Regions from separate parts of the Homo sapiens genome. Here all the other regions are linked to region 2. The links are contacts of gene promoters, found by promoter capture Hi-C in blood cells and fetal thymus (Javierre and others, 2016). All regions are on one chromosome and are shown on one strand. The core of a region is centred on a gene start or on the middle of the fragment in contact, and the rest is flanking DNA. Distances in the headings are between cores, read along the strand shown. Region 1 overlaps CUBN (cubilin). Region 2 holds the start of TRDMT1 (tRNA aspartic acid methyltransferase 1). Region 3 overlaps CUBN (cubilin). Region 4 overlaps ST8SIA6 (ST8 alpha-N-acetyl-neuraminide alpha-2,8-sialyltransferase 6).

Evidence for each region. The method cuts DNA at HindIII sites, captures the fragments that hold promoters and counts their contacts. A CHiCAGO score of 5 or more calls a contact.
Region 1: a contact is called between a fragment that was not itself captured here and the fragment with the promoter of TRDMT1 in region 2, in 13 of 17 cell types (M0 macrophages, M1 macrophages, M2 macrophages and 10 more). The highest score is 17.2, in M0 macrophages.
Region 3: a fragment that was not itself captured here is called in contact with the fragment with the promoter of TRDMT1 in region 2 in 10 of 17 cell types (activated CD4 T cells, M1 macrophages, M0 macrophages and 7 more); the score reaches 16.0 in activated CD4 T cells.
Region 4: a contact is called between a fragment that was not itself captured here and the fragment with the promoter of TRDMT1 in region 2, in 1 of 17 cell types (naive CD8 T cells). The highest score is 5.4, in naive CD8 T cells.

What each region holds. Positions count from the first base shown.
Region 1 is chr10:17,038,489-17,041,460 of GRCh38, reverse strand. CUBN (cubilin) reads left to right here. Exons shown (of 67, transcript NM_001081.4): 27 at 241-428. Among named protein-coding and RNA genes, the nearest start is that of CUBN, 90 kb to the left of the region's middle. The HindIII fragment of the contact is 775 bases long and covers 1,031-1,805 here.
Region 2 is chr10:17,200,122-17,202,939 of GRCh38, reverse strand. TRDMT1 (tRNA aspartic acid methyltransferase 1) reads left to right here and starts at 1,268. Exons shown (of 11, transcript NM_004412.7): 1 at 1,268-1,369. The coding sequence starts at 1,306. RefSeq lists a silencer at 1,571-1,630. The HindIII fragment of the contact is 5,194 bases long and covers 1-1,879 here.
Region 3 is chr10:16,969,556-16,972,511 of GRCh38, reverse strand. All of the region lies in intron 31 of CUBN (cubilin), which reads left to right. Among named protein-coding and RNA genes, the nearest start is that of RSU1, 150 kb to the right of the region's middle. The HindIII fragment of the contact is 481 bases long and covers 1,135-1,615 here.
Region 4 is chr10:17,439,121-17,442,043 of GRCh38, reverse strand. All of the region lies in intron 2 of ST8SIA6 (ST8 alpha-N-acetyl-neuraminide alpha-2,8-sialyltransferase 6), which reads left to right. It overlaps LOC105376436 (a long non-coding RNA gene), which reads right to left. Exons shown (of 4, transcript XR_007062074.1): 2 at 758-806. Among named protein-coding and RNA genes, the nearest start is that of ST8SIA6, 14 kb to the left of the region's middle. The HindIII fragment of the contact is 1,512 bases long and covers 859-2,370 here.

The sequences.
Region 1 (2,972 bases), core at 169-2,668, 160 kb after region 2:
CTTCAGTATTATTTCACATTTCTTCTAAATGGAAATCCTTTCACTATGAAAATACTGCACCAAATATATATGTGTGTGTGTCTCTGTGTGTGTATATATACACACACATATATACACATCATATATGTGTGTGTGTACATACACAGATGATTTTTATTTATTTTTTTTAAAGGAAAATCTCATCTTGGAGCACTTATGAAGTATATAATAGTGGTTCTTAACAGTCATTTCTTTTTCCAGCATGTGAGAATGTGGTAATAGTCAATCAAACCTATGGCATCTTAGAGAGTATAGGGTATCCGAATCCTTATTCTGAAAATCAGCATTGCAACTGGACCATCCGGGCAACAACAGGCAACACTGTGAACTACACATTTTTAGCATTTGACTTGGAACATCACATAAACTGCTCCACAGATTATTTAGAGGTATGTATTATAAAGCTTGATTGATCACTGCTTTTTCAGATCAAGGGAGATGTGTCAAGTTAGAATCCATCATGCTTTTTAGAATAAAATCCCTAACTCTGCCCCACGCATCTATAACACACCAACCACCCATGGTATTTGAACAGGTATATTTCATATTTAATGTATTAAATTGTGAATACAGAGAACTATCTATGTTTTTAGGTTTCAGTGTAACTTCTGGACTCATTGACCTCATATTACTTAACTTACATGGAAGGAGAGTAATAACCTCTATTTTTTGTTGGTTGTTTTTATGTTTGTTCTCTGTGTATAAGAGATCAGAAAATGTTTGGGTATCTTGGATTTATTTAAGATGTCATTTTTCTAGTATGAGGTATCATGGTTTTAATTGTTGTTTTTATTTTTAAATGTAAGTTCATTTCAGTATATTTTTATTTTTGTAAAATTGAAGTTTCAATTGTTATAATCATGACCACTAGTAACATTTATTCAACTGTCTGTATGCAATTTCAGGCAATAAATCTTGCTTAAATATTAGGCAACCTTGAATATAAGGTAATATGTTATTTTTGCAATAAGAAATTTTAACTTAAAAAGCTTTTTGATAACTTGCATATGTAACTTTTAGGGCTACAAATTGGGAGGTTATTTTGGCATCTACGTTTCATCATCAGTAAAATAACTTTTTGAGTCATCTAAGGCATTATCTTTATTTCTGTCTATATTGTTAATATATAATACTTCAAAAAATCCACATATAATGTTTTCACTAGATACCCTTTCTGAAGTGATAAGTACTTGCTCTGATAACAGGACATTTTTTTTCCCACCTGCCCTCCTACCTGCAGCCTAGTGACTTAAGGTAGTTGTTTTTAAGGTGGTCAGTGATTTTTAGAAGTCTTACTTACAAAGACTTCAACATCCATTGCTGGCAACTCTGGGGTCATATTCCCAGGAAAAAATATGTTATTCTTGTAAAATGTTCTTAATTGTGTTTTTACAAGTTGTATAGGAAAACTAGCATTGGTTGAGGTTGGTTGAGGTTAACATATATTTTCCAAATAGCACTTTTGTTTATGAAAACAAAGAGTGACAACAAAGCATTCTGCACTTTGAGAGACTCTGTGAGGTCCTAACTATAAGGAGATTCCCTTGTTTTTCAGAGATAATTTTTTGGGAAAAAATTTTGCCTTATATTTACAAAAGTACAATATTACAGAAATATTAGCCATAGTGTTTACCCATTAGAAAGTTTTGTTTACCAGTATTCTAAGAAAATATGACACAACATGAAACAAACTTACAAGCACGTACTTGGCAATGGTTTTAAAGTCCACCTTCCTTGACCTGGAGTTCAACTGGTCTTCACAAGCTTAATGATACCAGGATGGTATCATTAAGATACTACTAGAATAGGCATCCATTTCTTCACATGGTGAGACCTTGTTTGTGTTTTAGAAAAAGCAGAAAAGTTGCTTTCAAAGCCCTTTGTTTATACCGTGAACACAGCAGTTGGTCATACCTCCTTTTACCAGTTAGGACTATTCTGATTCCCACTGGACTGTGGGCTTCTCGAAGGTCTGTGCTGTCTCCTACTAACTTTGTAACCCAGGCACTTATTATACAGGTGGGACATTACAGGAGTTCAGTAAGTTCAAGTTGAATTGAATATCACAGCCATATTTTAGTATCAGTCTAATGATAACTACTAATGAATGAGAAAGATTGAATTCCAAACTGGCGTTTTTGTACGACCTCCTACACACGCAGTGCAATCCTACAAATTGGAGCACAAACCAAAATAGGACTCATGATCTTGCCGAGCGTTGCACGTATAACAGTGTGCTGGGCACCATAATCGTGATTTGGTAAAGCGTAATGGAGAAAGCCACAGAAAGGAGGATGCTTTTGAATTGGGCTTTAAAGGAGGCTTTGGCAGAAAGAGGGGGGAGGAAAGAGATGAAACATTTCCAGGACCTGAACTCCATTTCTTTCGACTCATTTGAGGATGAAATGGCAACAAAAAGGTGTTTAAAAACTCAAATTAAAAAATGCTTGTTCCAGCAACTGCAGAGTAGCTCATTAGAGCCCCTTATGGATGACGTGTCTGTCATGTTATGGTCATGCCATTTCTCTTGTGCAACATTGACGGTGAAAGAGCAAAAATACAAAATGAGAACCAGAAGTTCAGAAAGGCCTTCCAAAAAAACGGCGCTGTTGCCAGAGGGAGGAGATTGTTTTCCATCTCTGTGAGCCAAGAGGCCAGACCAGAGCAATAGCTGCAATAGCTGGTCTATGATGGAAATTTTAACACACAAACAACCATTTACAGAGAGAAAACTCACACACACAGAAATCTAGCTTCCATTATTTTAATCGCTTCTGGGTTTTTTCAGCTGACTTCCCCAAATCCCAACTGGATGCCTGTTACTAGAGCCAGAATTTAGTTATTCTGAATTAATAAAATGGAAACTACAAAAAGACTTAATTACGTGCTGGTCAGACACTATCCCGCCTTGATGAGAGGAATGGGTTTGAAAA
Region 2 (2,818 bases), core at 19-2,518:
TTGACACTTTTTGAAATGGCCCTACACAGCCATCTCTTGTGGGGAAAATCTACATTCTATAGAGACTCCCTTTCCCTTTCCAGGTCTTTTCCTGATCCAAGAGATATTTAACTAAGAGTCTGGCATCTTTTTACACATGATAAGAGACATTTGCCAATTATTCTCTCTGAAGCCTGTTACGTATGAGACTTCGTCTACATAATAAGAACCTTGGTCTCCACCTTATCTTAACCCAGACACATTCCTTTCTATTGATTCCAGGTCTTTAGGTCACAACTTAACTCTTTCAACCAACTGCCAATCAGAAAATCTTTGAATCCACCTGTAACCTGGAATCCTTCCCCTTTTTGAGTTGTCCCATCTTTATGGACCAAACTAAGTACACCTTCCATATACCAGTTAATGTCCTTATGTCTCCCTAAAACCATATAATCCCAAGCTGTAGCCCAACCACCTTGGGTACATGTTGTCAGGACCCTGTGGGGTTGTGTCATGGGTCACGGTCCTCACCTTGTGCTCAGAATAAACCTCTTCAAACATTTTACGGAGTTTGGCTTTTTTCGTCAACATGAGCCTCTAACAGTTGGTTACTGGATCATCCTGAGGAATCAAGGCCATAGCACTTAAAGACCCATAAATAATCCTACATGATATTCACTGTGTATTCTATGTAGGTGTAATTTCCAAGCTAAAACATAATTAACCCCACTAATAGACACAACAAACATCCTCTGTATTATCAGCACGCACACAGGGCTTTCTCTGCTGCGAGTGGACTTGTGTCCTTACTTATAATTCTGGAATCTTCTCTAGGGGAGAGGCTGGTCTAATTTCTCTCTATTGACCCAGGGCAGGCAGGAAACAAGGCACACTGTGGAAAGAATGTTTGAATGTTCAGGCTTCTAAGTGACAGAAAAGCAGCTTGTCTGAAAAATGATTTTTTTCTGGCTTCTAACCAGTGTTAATTCACTTGGAAACCAAGGCAGTTTTCTCCCCTTTACTGAACTCTGGATTTCTTTTCCAATCAAGGCCCCTGACACCAAAGAAGGAAATGGAGCGTAAATCAGGCTACAGAGTGGCTGCCATTCATTCGGGAAGCCTTATTGTTTTCCGTCCTTTGTTCCCCTCTAGACCCTTGCCAATCCCCAGGCCGCGAGGCCCTCTGAAGCCCTGAGCCTGGAGCGGTAGGAGACGGGGGAACTGAAACGCCGCGGAACCAGAGGCTGAGGGAGCGGCGCGATGGAGGGAGGAGGAGCGACGGACCGGCAGGCCTAGCTCCGGGGCTGCGGCGGCTGAGGCGCGGGGATGGAGCCCCTGCGGGTGCTGGAGCTATACAGCGGCGTGGGCGGCATGCACCACGCGCTGAGAGGTGAGAGTCCATCTAGCACCCCTCTCTCTATTCGCTCACGGGGGCTGGTTGGAGCACCCGCGCCGGGAAGGGGCGGAGCGGCGAGACGCAAGGGGCGGACACTGTGGGGCGGACACTGTGGGGCGGCCCTCGGTTGTCCTGGAAACAGCTCCTGCGCGCCGCCGTGTCCACCCCTCCAGACGCTGACTCCCTTCTCCTGGCGCCGAGTCTGGCTCGAGGGGCCGCACATGGCGCCTCAAAGGGCCCAGTTGGGAGTCGGGATTCGCAAGGCAGTAAATCAACCTCAAAGGGTATCAAAGGGGCGAGACCCTCGCCTGGTGCCAAGCCCCCATTCTAAGTGTGCAGCCACCGAGAAGCATGGAGACTCGGTCCTTCATCCTGGGGGGCTTCCCAGCTGGGGAGGGAGGGAGTGTCAGGGGCTCCCCTGGTGAGAGATGGATCTTGGAAGGGATAATAGCTACAATTCAAGGTAGAAGTTTGCGAATGCTAAATAGGATGGTAGAGGAAGCTTGAAGAACTTGGACGTCTGATCGTTGGAAAGAAACGTGTCTTCTGTAGTTCTGCGTTTAGATGCCAGAGAACTGAGTTCCAGCTTGGTGGCAGTGTGACGTTGGGCTACTTCGTGAACAGTGATGAACCTGTTTCCTGGTTTTAAAAGAGAATGATTATTATAAGGATTAAAGTCTGTCAAGTGCTTGTTAGTGCCTGATACATTGTAACCACTCCAAATATTATACATTATTATCACTATTACTTTAAAACGACATCACGAGATATTATCAAGCAAACTATTACTTTTATGCACGTCTTTGATTTTGAGGTTTTTGATTTCTTTCATGCTGAGTTGGAACTGAAAGTTTTACTTTTGGTGATATTCACTCAAAATTATTTATTGAGCTCCTATTCTGTGCCAGATTTTGTGCTAGGAGCTGGGGATACAGAATGACAAACAGGCTTTGAAGGTGCATGTTTATTCTTAAATTACTAAGACAACCACCGAACTGAAACTTCCCTGCTTCCTTATTTAGGACCAAGAGTAACAAGAGTAACTGTAAGATACAGACAATATTTAATGGGTTTAGCGTATAAGTTTTTTGAGCAGATTTATTGAGTTTCAATTCTAGACTAGGTTAATGATCATTAAGTTTTTAGTACTTGTTTGCCGGCTATCTTTATTTCTCATTTTAAAACTTAGCAGCATCAAAGCAAAACTCTAGTACTATTTACTCTTTGTTAATTCTCTAAAGTGATATAATGTCCGCGTTTTCCCATATCTTGAAACTCCTTAATGAATTGCTTAGTACTTTATCATAAGCTGTAATTCAGCCATTCCTTAAGTGTCGAATATTTAGATCATTCTTCAGTTTTTTTGCAAGTACAGTGTGCTACAGTTACATTCTTGAGCATAATGCCGATTTTCTCTTTAAGCATGTTTACTAACTGTTGGAA
Region 3 (2,956 bases), core at 126-2,625, 230 kb after region 2:
GAGCTGTGATCACACCACTGTACTCCAGCCTGGGTGACAGCATGACCCTGTTTCAAAAAAAAAAAAAATTGTGAATGATGAGGCCATTAACTGAGTAAAGGGAGTAGATGATAGTGAGTTTGACTTGTAAACTTTTGGGTTTAAATATTATATAGTTTGACATAAGAGTTCAGAGCTTGGGATAGGATCTGAGCTAGACATATACAATTGAGGATAATTTCTGTATATTGGGTGGTTATTAAAGTTGTGGGAGTAGGTATGATCACTTTTAGGAGTATTTTACCAAGAGAAAGGGGCCAAGCCAACTCCTGGGGAAACACTGCCATGTAACGGGTGGATGAAAGATCAGAGGAGAGGAGGCTGAGGAGGTGCGCTGAGTGCTTGGTGGAGAACCAGAAGAGAGTGGTAGCATTCAAACCACGAGGGAAGCTGAATTTCAAGGGTGGGTGATCAAAGGTATCAAATCCCATGCAGGATGCCAACGAGCGTGAGGATTGCAACAAAGCCCCTGGATTCCGTCTTTAATAACCTGCAAGGAGCAGGATTGTGGCGGGTGGTGGTGGAAGACTCAAGGTCACAGTGGTTAGGAGGTGCAGGAGCTTCTGAGCTTTTCCCCAGAGTTACGGAAATGAGTGGCATAAGGAGAAAATGGGCAGTAACCAATGGGTTAACCAAAATCAGTGGAGAGTTGGTTTTTTAAAAAAAATGGAGAAATATAAGTTGTGTGAAGAGGGCAGGTGGAAAAAGAGCAGCTGAATGTGAGAGCCAGGCGAACAGTAGAGAAAATCATGTTTTCAGGACAGAGACACCAAGAAGCGCCAGATTGGTTCTATGAATGTTGTACTTTTTAGAATAAGAAATTGAAACCCATGGCTTGGCACAAGATTTTTCTGATTTATAAATTCATTATGTTAAAAATTGCATAAATTGTATACAAACTAAGTCATTTTTTCTTGGATGATTTATAAATCAACTTTACAAAAAGATAAGGAAGTTTTAAAAGAAAACAAGACTGTCCAGGTAAGTTGGGGTAGAGATCTGCTATATATTTGCCAAATGTGCCCACTTAAGGGGACAGGAGGTCTGCAGAGGTTTGGAACCAGACCAGGCAATGCCCTGGCAAGGCTGGAAGCTTGTTAGTTAGTTGTCCAGGGATTCATGAAGGCCGGAGTTGAAGCACCAGCCCTCTATCTTTACAGCCAGATGGACACTGGACGGGAAACGTACCCCAAAGTCCAACATCTTACATAATATCTCTGCAGTCTCAGTTCATATAAAGCCAATCCTTCATTTTGGAGACATTCAAGTTAATGTCCTGGTCCTGTTGCTTAGACAGAGTTATTAGCAAAGAGAAAAATATTCAGTTGCCAGTGATGCTGTCAGATAATGTTGGGGTTCAGGAGATTTTTAACAGAGTTCAAGTGTACTCTTTAAATACCAGTGAAAATTATGCTGGAATGGGACCAGCCATCCTGTTTTTTCAAAACTTCTATAACAATTTGGGTTGTTAGAAGAAGAAATAGTAATTTAGCTGTATGTTAAATATGATTTCACATATGATTAACTGTCATAAACCTATAGATACATAGAATGTTAAGGTTGGAAGAAGAAAGCTTAGAGTTCGTTTGCTGTTGTCACCTAATTTTTTAAAAAAAGACATTGAGGTGGAGGTGGGGCAGTGCAAAAAATAAAAATTAATTAAAAAATAAAAAAGATACTGAGATCCAGAAATGTCAGGGTCAAGGCTAAGTAGAAATTAACAGCAGGATCAGCACTAAAACGAAAGCCTTATGCTTCCTACGAAGTGAATAAGTATTTTGGTAAAATATAAAAATTGCAGTTATGTACAGGATACGGAATGGCAGACTAGAAAAATAGAGGGAGAAAATAAATTTAGGGTCAGGCTGGAGCCACTTTGATTTTTTTTTTTTTTTTGAGATGGAGTTTCACTCTTGTTGCCCAGGCTGGAGTGCAAAGGTGTGATCTCAGCTCACTGCGACCTCCACCTCCCAGGTTCAAGCAATTCTCCTGCCTCAGCCTCCCAAGTAGCTGGGATTACAGGCATGTGCCACCATGCCCGGCTAATATTTTGTGTTTTTAGTGGAGATGGGGTTTCACCATGTTGGCCAGGCTGGTTTTGAACTTCTGACCTCAGGTGATCCACCCGCCTCGGCCTCTGATTACAGGTGTGAATGCTGGGATTATAGGCGTGAGCCACCGTGCCCAGCCCACTTTCACTTCTATATCTGATAAGCCCAGCCTTCATTTGTCAATAGAAGGAAAAGTGTTAAGAATTCAAATATGAAATGGAAAGTGTCCTTGCTTTGAAGTCAGGAGGTCAGGGTTTCCTTCATTACTTTCCCCTTCGGTGCCAAATATGTACCAGACACTGCCAGGTGCTTGTTTCTGGACGTGTACCACCCCTCACCCTCTTCATGGCTTGGGGTTCTTAGTTTGCTTATTTAGAAAATCAGGTGCCTGGGGAACAGAAGCAGAAAGAAGAAAACTAAGGAAGAGGATTCAGTTAGGAGTTGCATTTGTGGGTAAGAAAAGGAGGACAAGATGGCAGATGAAATGGCCACTGAGGGCCCAGTGACGTCAGTGGTGGTTTCATCCTCAAAGTTGAAGTCAACCTCAGGCAGCCACCAGGCTTCACATGATCTCTGGGTTACAAGACTATCCCCATACTCTTCTGGGAATACAATAGAAAGCTCTTCTTAGAGTAGGCCTAGTCCCTATAGGTTCCAAATTGAGGCAAGCTAAGCCCACATGTAACAGCCATTACTCTTGGTGTCATGGAAACAAAGGCAAAATTCGCCAAGTAGAAGAAACAAATGAACATTTAAAAATGGAACAGTAGACTGGGCTCAGTGGCTCACGCCTGTAATCCCAGCACTTTGGGATGCCAAGGCAGGCGGATCATGAGGTCTAGAGATTGAGACCATCCTGGCCAACA
Region 4 (2,923 bases), core at 365-2,864, 240 kb before region 2:
TACAAAAATTAGCCAGGCGTGGCGGCAGGCACCTGTAATCCCAGCTACCTGGGAGGCTGAGGCAAGAGAATCGCTTGAACCTGGGAGGTGGAGGTTGCAGTGAGCCCAGATCACACCACTGCACTCCAGCCTGGGTGACAGAGCAAGACTCCATCTCAAAAAAAAAAAAAAATTGTTTTATATCGTCTTTACTATAAAAACAATAAAAATTAGAGCTTGTGTTTAGGGCCAATTTCAAATGTGGAACTTTCAGATAAGTCTTTTTAATAAATGTAATTTTATTGAGTTTGACAGATTCTTTCAAATGAAACTTAATTAAATTAATTAACAAATTTAGAGGGTGGGACTTCCAGATGGTGGAGCGAGGATAGTTTTCAACAAATGGTGCTGGCACAATGGGATCTCTATAAGCAAAAAGATAAGTTTAGATCCAGGGGCCGGGTGCAGTGGTGCACGCCTGTAATCCCAGCACTTTGGGAGGCTGTGGCAGGTGGATCACTGGAGGTCAGGAGTTCGCGAGCAGCCTAACATGGTGAAACCCTGTCTCTACTAAATACAAAACAATTAGCCAGGCATGGTGGTGCATGCCTGTCATCCGAGCTACTTGGGAGGCTGAGACAGGAGAATCGCTTGTACCTGGGAGGTGGAGGTTGCAGTCAGCTGAGCTCGCGCCATTGCACTCCAGCCTGGGAAACGAGCGAGACTCCGTCTCAAATAAATAAATAAATAAATAAATAAAGATAATTTAGATGCTTACCTTACACTATACACAGAAGAATGGTTTCCACATGGATCACAGACAAAAGCTACAGACAGAAAATGTCCAAAAGAAAACATACAAGAAAAATTTTAGAAGCTTGGATCAGGTAGCATTCTTAGATGTGGCACCAAAAGCATAATCAATAAAAGAAAAATTTGACAAATTATATTTTTCCTAAATTAAAAAAAAGTTTGTGCTTCAACAGACACCATTAAGAATATAAAAACATAAGCCATCCACTGAGAGAAGATATTTGTATATCATACATCCAATAAAAGACTTGTATCCAGAATATGTAATGAACTCTTGCAACTCAATTAACAAGAAGACAACCCCAGTTTAAAAATGGGCAGATGTGAAGACCTATCTTCAGCAAAGAAGATAGACAGATGGCTAATAAGCATGTGACAAAATGTTCTACATCATTAATCATTAGGGAAATGCAAACCAAAACCCCAATAAGATACAACTCCATGTCTTTTATAATGACTTTTGTAGCAATGCCACCGTGACATGGAGAAGGCTTCCTCCCAAGGTTAGCTTCTACTGCCGAAGCTCCTGACAGTGGTTCTTTAGCGGGATCACAGAAAGGTTTATTACTCACATAGGCAGGAAGTCCTGGGGTAGGGTTAGAGGAGGATAAGAAGTTTTAGAACACGGAGAGTGCATAGCCGGTGTAGTGCACAGGAGTTTTGTCTACTCCTTATGAATGTATGGATAGCCCTAAGACCTTGAGGCAAAGTTTAACATTTGAGAAACTATTACAAATTACATTTGAGGCTGGGTGCGGTGGCTCACACCTGTAATCCCAGCACTTTGGGAGGCCGGGGCAGGTGAATCACTTGAGGTCAGGAGTTCGAGACCATCCTGGCCAACATAGTGAAACCTCGTCTCTACTAAAAATACAAAAATTAGCAGGGTATGGTGGCGGGCGCCTGTAATCCCAGCTACTTGGGAGGCTGAGGCAGGAGAATTGCTTGAGCCCGGGAGGCGGAGTTGCAGTGAGCTGAGATCATGCCACTGCACTCCAGCCTGAGTGACAGAGTGAGACTCTGTCTCAAAAAAAAAAAAAAAAATACATTTGAGAAACTATTGAGTTGAGAAACTATTACAAAACTGACTAAAAATCAGTATCCCTTTGCCTCCAGGAGTTGTGGAGTAATTTCCTATTGCTTATGATTATGAAAGCCGTAGGCACTGTCATCCTGAATCCCATAGTTATACCCCATTCAAATTGCTGTAATGGAGTGAAGCCAGAGCTGGCATCTGATTTAAGATTGTTGGCACTGGGAGTTTATTTAAGATCTTCCTTTCCTCGTTGGAAGATCCACATAGTTCTAGGGAGTGTTGAATCTTTGTTGTACAATTGAAAATACCTCCATTTGTGTTCATGAACTTTGTAGGAACAGCTGCATAGATATTTTATTGCTCTAATGATTTCTAATGAGCCATTTCCTCCTGGGAGATAGCCTCAGCATGCCTTGTAGTGATTCCTCTTCTTCACATGCCGTTGGCCTGGGAGTCTCTAAATTGACACGTGGGAAGTGGGGGTAAAGTGAGCCTTGTTAGGATTGTGCAGGAGGCGACAGACACGGTGGGGAGATGAAGCTTAGAGATTGCTGGCACCAAATCAGACATTCATGGAGGTCCAAGTGCAGCTACTTTGGAAAAGAGTTTGGCAGTTTCTTAAAAAGTTAAACATATGCTGGACATGGTGGCTCACGCCTGTAATCCCAGCACTTTGCTGAGGCCGAGGCGGGTGGATCACCTGAGGTCAGGAGTTTTAGACCAGCCTGGCCAGCATGGCAAAACCCTGCCTCTACTACAAATACAAAAATTAGCAGGATGTGATGGTGGGTGCCTCTAATTCCAGCTACTTGGGAGGCTGAGGCACAAGAATCACTTGAACATGGAAGGCGGAGGTTGCAGTGAGCCAAGATTGCACCACTGCACTCCAGTCTGGGTGACAGAGAGAGGCTCCATCCCCAACTCCAAAAAAAAAAAAAAAAAAAGAGAGGGAAGAAGCACAGAAAGTAATAATGCATGACCTGTAAATCACATGTAGTGAGATGTGTAAAAAGCTGAATACCTAAACACTTGAGATATGAATCTGAAAAGCTGGAAGAGGAAGAAATGAAATTATCATTTTAAATGAAGAAGATA